Linked DNA regions of Homo sapiens: region 2 is linked to region 1. The links are contacts of gene promoters, found by promoter capture Hi-C in blood cells and fetal thymus (Javierre and others, 2016). All regions are on one chromosome and are shown on one strand. Each heading gives the region's core, a stretch centred on a gene start or on the middle of the fragment in contact. The rest is flanking DNA. Distances are from core to core; before and after follow the strand shown. Region 1 holds the start of NCOA7-AS1 (NCOA7 antisense RNA 1). Region 2 overlaps ARHGAP18 (Rho GTPase activating protein 18).

What was found. Contacts are between HindIII fragments. The CHiCAGO score rates a contact against its expected background, and 5 or more counts as called.
Region 2: a contact is called between a fragment that was not itself captured here and the fragment with the promoter of NCOA7-AS1 in region 1, in 1 of 17 cell types (M0 macrophages). The highest score is 6.0, in M0 macrophages.

What each region holds. Positions count from the first base shown.
Region 1 is chr6:125,817,374-125,820,123 of GRCh38, forward strand. NCOA7-AS1 (NCOA7 antisense RNA 1) reads right to left here and starts at 1,485. Exons shown (of 3, transcript NR_126386.1): 1 at 1,437-1,485. All of the region lies in intron 2 of NCOA7 (nuclear receptor coactivator 7), which reads left to right. RefSeq lists an enhancer at 710-1,211. The HindIII fragment of the contact is 4,548 bases long and covers 1-2,750 here.
Region 2 is chr6:129,679,722-129,682,472 of GRCh38, forward strand. All of the region lies in intron 1 of ARHGAP18 (Rho GTPase activating protein 18), which reads right to left. Among named protein-coding and RNA genes, the nearest start is that of ARHGAP18, 29 kb to the right of the region's middle. The HindIII fragment of the contact is 6,181 bases long and covers 1-2,751 here.

The sequences.
Region 1 (2,750 bases), core at 235-2,734:
CATTCCCATCAGCAAAGTCTGAGTAATCCAGTTTGTCTGCATTGTCATTTGGTGGTGTCAATATTTTTTATTTTTATCTTAGCTATTCTGATAAGTATGTAGTGATATCTCATTATGGTTTTAATTTGTATTTCCTTAATGGTTAGTGAAGTTTAACATTTTCATGTGCTTATTATTAGCCATAGTGTATCTTCTTTAGTGGCATCTCCTTTCCTATCTTTTGCCCATTTTCTAATTGAATTGTTTAGGTTTTTACTGTTGAATTGTACACATTCTAGTCTTTTGTTGGATATGTGATTTGCAAATATTTTCTCCCGGACTGTAGTTTGTCTTTTCATCCAGTTAACAGAGTTGCAGAGCAAAAGGTTTTAATTTTGATGTGGTTCAATTTATCAGTTTCTCCTTTTATGAATTGTGCTTTTGGTCTGAATTCTAAGATCTCTTTGCCTAGCTGTATGTTCTGAAGATTCTCTCCTGTTTTTCTTTTCTGAAAATTTTATAGCATTATGTTTTATATTTAAGTCTGTGATCCATTTTGAATTTATTTGTGGATAAGATATGAGTTTAGGTCAAAATGGTGGTCATGCTTCTCCTCCCCTTCCTCCCCGTCTCCCTTCCTCACCTCCTCCCTTTCTTCCTGCTCCTCTTCCTGCTCCTCTTCCTCCTCTTCTTCCTCCTCCCCCTTCCCGCTTCTCCCCCTTCCTTCTTTCTCCCACCTCCTCCTTCCTCCTCCTCCTTACTTTCTTCTTCTTTCTTTTCTTTCTTCTTCACTTGCCCTACATAGTGATTTTAAGAGCTATAGTGCCTTCTCAGCCTGAATCCAAAGTGATTCCTGTAGTAAAGGTAACTGCCGGTTCATGAACAACCTGCTCAATGTTAACCTCTTCTTGTTCCTAAAATGTAGAGTCAGGGGAGCCCCTGAAACTGAGAATACAAACCAAAACTGTTCTGGAAGAGCAGCACAGTTTTTTCAACTCAGAAATGTAAAATTGTCTTGCTTATCATGACCTCTTCTGAAAAGTATTCTAAAAATGAAACAAAAAACGTATCCTAAAATGCTGAAATGTGATCTTGGGAGCATAGGGACAGTGGCACAAGGATGAAATCAGTGATGCTCTTAAGACAGTAAGACAACATGATTTGTAACTAGGAAATGAGAGAGATGGAGAGAGGAGAATGGAGAGAAGAGGGGGTAGGAGCAGGGAGAGAGAGAAAGAGACAGAGAGAGAAACACTGACTGACAAACCTGTAGTTTAGCTCTTACAATGCAGTGGAAGCCAGAAATGGTCAAGCTATTAAAAGCAAAAGGCAAACCAAAGAGAAAAGAACCCCCTTCAGCCTATAATCAGAAAAGAGCCATCCAAAGTTATACATCTTTTCAAATGCCTTCTGACTTAACTGTGGAATTACCATGTGGAACTAGCAACAGAACTTACTTGAAAGCTGGTTTCTGACAATGTAGAGCAGAGTTCTCTGGAGCAGCGTACTTAAGGGCAGTCCAAGCAAGATCTCTGGAGAGAAGGATAAAATGTCAGGCCAAGGGTGAGGCCAAACTGATGCAATCTCAGTTTTCTCTAAACTAAATTATACCACCTTACATAAATCTCAACTGGTGTTCTGAGGAAGTCAAAAGGAAGATTTACCCTGATGCTGTGCCTGCTGCCACAATTACATATCTGAAACCCTAAAAACTGCTTTTTAGCCTGCTTCCCCCTTCCACCTAGGAAAAACTAGGAACACCTAGTTTTTCCTCCTGAGTAGTTAAATAGCCAATGTTTTCTTTGTGTGCTATCTTATCATGTGGTTTCATAATCGTTGTGTGACTGTGTTTGATAAATAGTCCTTTGCCAAACCTGTTTTGTTGACGTTTCGCTCTTTAACATCAAAATAGAGTTTAAAATACCCTATTTTAATAATTTTGGATTGAAATTAGTGATTTGAGGGTCACCCAGTCTTTCCTTTCTTATAATTTATCTTGAAATATGCCTGTGTAACTCTAAATAGAGGGGTGGATTAATACTGCTACTAGATAGAGTAATTCTGGATAAGACCTGATGAATTTTTTGGATTTTCTGACCCTGGTCCAACTGGTTTTCAGGTGCTTCAGGATAGTTTTATAACAGTTGTTAAATCTAGATTGAATGATTTGTGAAACTTTTTCACAAATGGTTTTGCAAATAATTTATATATGCAAAATTAGTATATGTCTATATTAATTTCTTGATCCCTGACAGGTCTTGAAAACCAAATGAAAAACTGAATTACTAAAGCAAATTATACTTTCTGTACTATTTGTACTGTGTACAATTTATGCTATCCTCTGGGGTGACTATCATGTGTCATTTGTTACACCCCTGCTGACTCTTCCTTCCCCTTGTAGTTAGAATGCAAAATTTTCTTTAGTATTGCCATACAGGGCTGTCTTCTTACACACTTGCTTGACATTATTTGGCTTTTGTGATTTCCGAGTAGGTCCTTGTATGCCATTGGTTGAAGATTCTTTGAAAGCATTTTTTCAGGATCAAGCGTTGATTGAAGATATCCAAAATACATCTGTAGTTGAACCAAATGGTGTTTTGTGGGAGGTTTACTTTTCCCCTCTGATAAGGTGTGAGAGCCTGGGAGTAAACAGTGAGTAATATAGACGAAGACACAGACTGGGTGTTCATGTAGGTCCCTTGTTGGCTCCCACCTCCCCTATTCCCTGGTTGTCATGAAAAGCAGAACTGCTGCTCCCACCTCCGCTTTCC
Region 2 (2,751 bases), core at 11-2,510, 3.9 Mb after region 1:
TCCATTTCGTTTTTATTTCTCTTCCCTCCTGCATTGGTTTCATGTGGCTGCTATAACAAATTACCAAAATTTGGTGGCTTAAAACAAATGAAATCTATTCTCTAAAAGTCTGGAGACTAGAAATTTAAAAGCAGGATCACTGGGCTGAAATCCTGGTGTCAGCAAGGCAGCACTCCCTCCGAAGCCTCTAGGGATCCAGTCCTTGCCTCTTCCAGTGTCTATCTGGCAGTACCAGCATTTCCTTGCCGTGGCCACATGACTTCAATCTCCGCCTCCATCTTTACATGCTTCTCCTCTGCATATCAAATCTCCCTCTGCCACCTAAAAGGATACTTGTAATTGCATTTAGGACCCAACTGGATAATCCAGGATAATTTCCCATCTCAAGATCTTAACTTAATCACATCTGCAAAGACCCTTTTTCCAAATAAGTTCACATTCACAACTTCTGTGAATTAGGACCTTTTTAAAAATTTTTGGAAGCCACTATCAGACAATCATACCTACACAGAAAGCCTAAGAATGAAAAAGGGTAATAAGAAAAAAAATACAAATTTACTAAGCCAGAGCATTTACAGTTCTGCTCCAAACATATCTGAAGAGTTTTTCTGCTTCTGAATAGGTCCCCAAAAGCAAGGTTCTCTACTCCTAAGTTATTTAAGGCGTTTAAGGTGAGAATTTAATTAAATTATACTGGGAAGTACCATACAAATTAAAACTAATATTATACCTCTTTTCTCCCCCTCTCCTTCCTCCTCAATAATAACCTCAAATTTCCTTTCGAACAGCTCCTGTAACTTTTACTGACCCATTTCAGAACTCTGGCTTGACACTGCACTGTATTAATCCTGGGAGAAAGAGCCCAAGAAAGCTCAGCAAGCAGCCCCCTACACAGGGCCAGTTCTCAGGAGCCTTTAGGATCAGAGGTAAATCTGGGCAAGGCCGAAGCCTGGTCTGGTGGTACCCTGGAGCCAGATCGTTTCCAGAACTGGAAGAGTAACATGGCATTCATCCAGGGGACATGCTCCTTATAGTTGCTTTTCCTTAACTGAAAAAGGAATTCTTGGCTAGAGAGCCTAAAAGCCTAAAGGCAAAATTATATGGATAACCCAGAGAGTATGTATGGACCTCAGGGCTCCAAGGAAAACAGTGAGGAGGCATTATGACTTTGTACTTCAGCAATGACAGCAGTGGAGGATGGGCCAAATCTCTGCCTTCCCGATAAACCCTTTGAGTAGAACTGTAACACAGCCCACCATAATCCTGACTCGCCTCCTTCTCTAGTTTCCTGGACATGGAGAATTGCTGCCATTCTAGAATCCACTTGCCAAGATCCTTAATCAGAAGTTTTTTTTGCTGTTGTTGTTGTTTTTTGAGACGAAGTCTTACTCTGTTGCCCAAGCTGGAGTGCAGTAGCACAATCGCGGCTCACTGTAACCTCCACCTCCCGAGTTCAAGTGATTCTCCTGCCTCAGCCTCCTGAGTAGCTGGGACTACAGGCACGCACTGCCATGTCCAGCTAATTTTTGTATTTTTGGTAGAGACAGGGTTTTACTATGTTGGCCAGGCTCGTCTTGAACTCCTAACCTCGTGATCCGCCTGCCTCGGCCTCCCAAAGTGCTGGGATTACAGGCGTGAGCCACCGCGCCCAGCTAGAAGTATTTCTTAACATTGTTAATACTTAACAGTGTCCTCCAAAAAAGAAAACATCCTGAGGTAGAAAACCTACATATAAATCAATAATTCAATGACTGCTTGTATATAAGCCCCATCTACTTTCTTCTCTCTCCAGATCTGAATTAGTATACAAATTCAATCTTCAGCCTCTTAAGCAAGAATAAAAATACCACATCATATACTATGATGCCATTACAAATATATTCCCATTTTATTTGAGCTATTAACTTTTTTTTGCTTGTATAAACAGAATAAATAATTCATTTCATGGCTTAAAACATAGCAACATGAAGGCAAATGCAAAATAAATAGCAAATCAAAATCCGTGAAATACTAGACAAGGGTTGTCTGATGTAGGGTAAGCACTGTGAGACAGTCCAAAGACAACACATTGCATTTCACTTTGTTTTCAAAGAACATGGTGACCAAGTTCACAGGTTAGGCAATCCATTATCCCTTCTTCTTCATTTATTGGCTTGCCTTCACCTAGCAGAAGTTTCAGGCAGCTACACAAAAAGTCTATTGTTTCCTCTCTGCTGTATCTCATCAAGTAATGTCCTTTCACTCCAGTGAAAAGCCTATACTCTTACTGAGCTCATCTTAGCTTATTAAATTTATAATTTAACAACTGTGCCAACACACTGTAATTACAGAATCATTATGTGGTTTTTACATACAATTATTTTTTAAAGGAAGGCTCACTGGAGATTCAGTTTATGAAAGCAGATATTACGTCAATCCCCTTCATACATACTGAAGAAAAGCTCCTTCACCTCCTACTACCCACCCTAACCCCCGGTTTTGGCTAAACCAAGGAAAGGACAATATTGGTGTCTGTTAAGTATGAAGACATGCCAGGGTCACAGAAGAAATAACTCCAGCTTTGGAACATAAAACAACCCACGCCTTTCTCTTTGCCAAGCCAGAATCCTGACATGACCACTTCTGAAGCCCCCTTGCCTCATTTCCCCGTGTTCTGAGGCTAGCTTCCCTCTCTGGCAGACCCCCAGAACAATACATGAGGTCTTACAGGCAAGTAGTCCTACAGATCCAAGAGGAATCAAAGCATAGCTG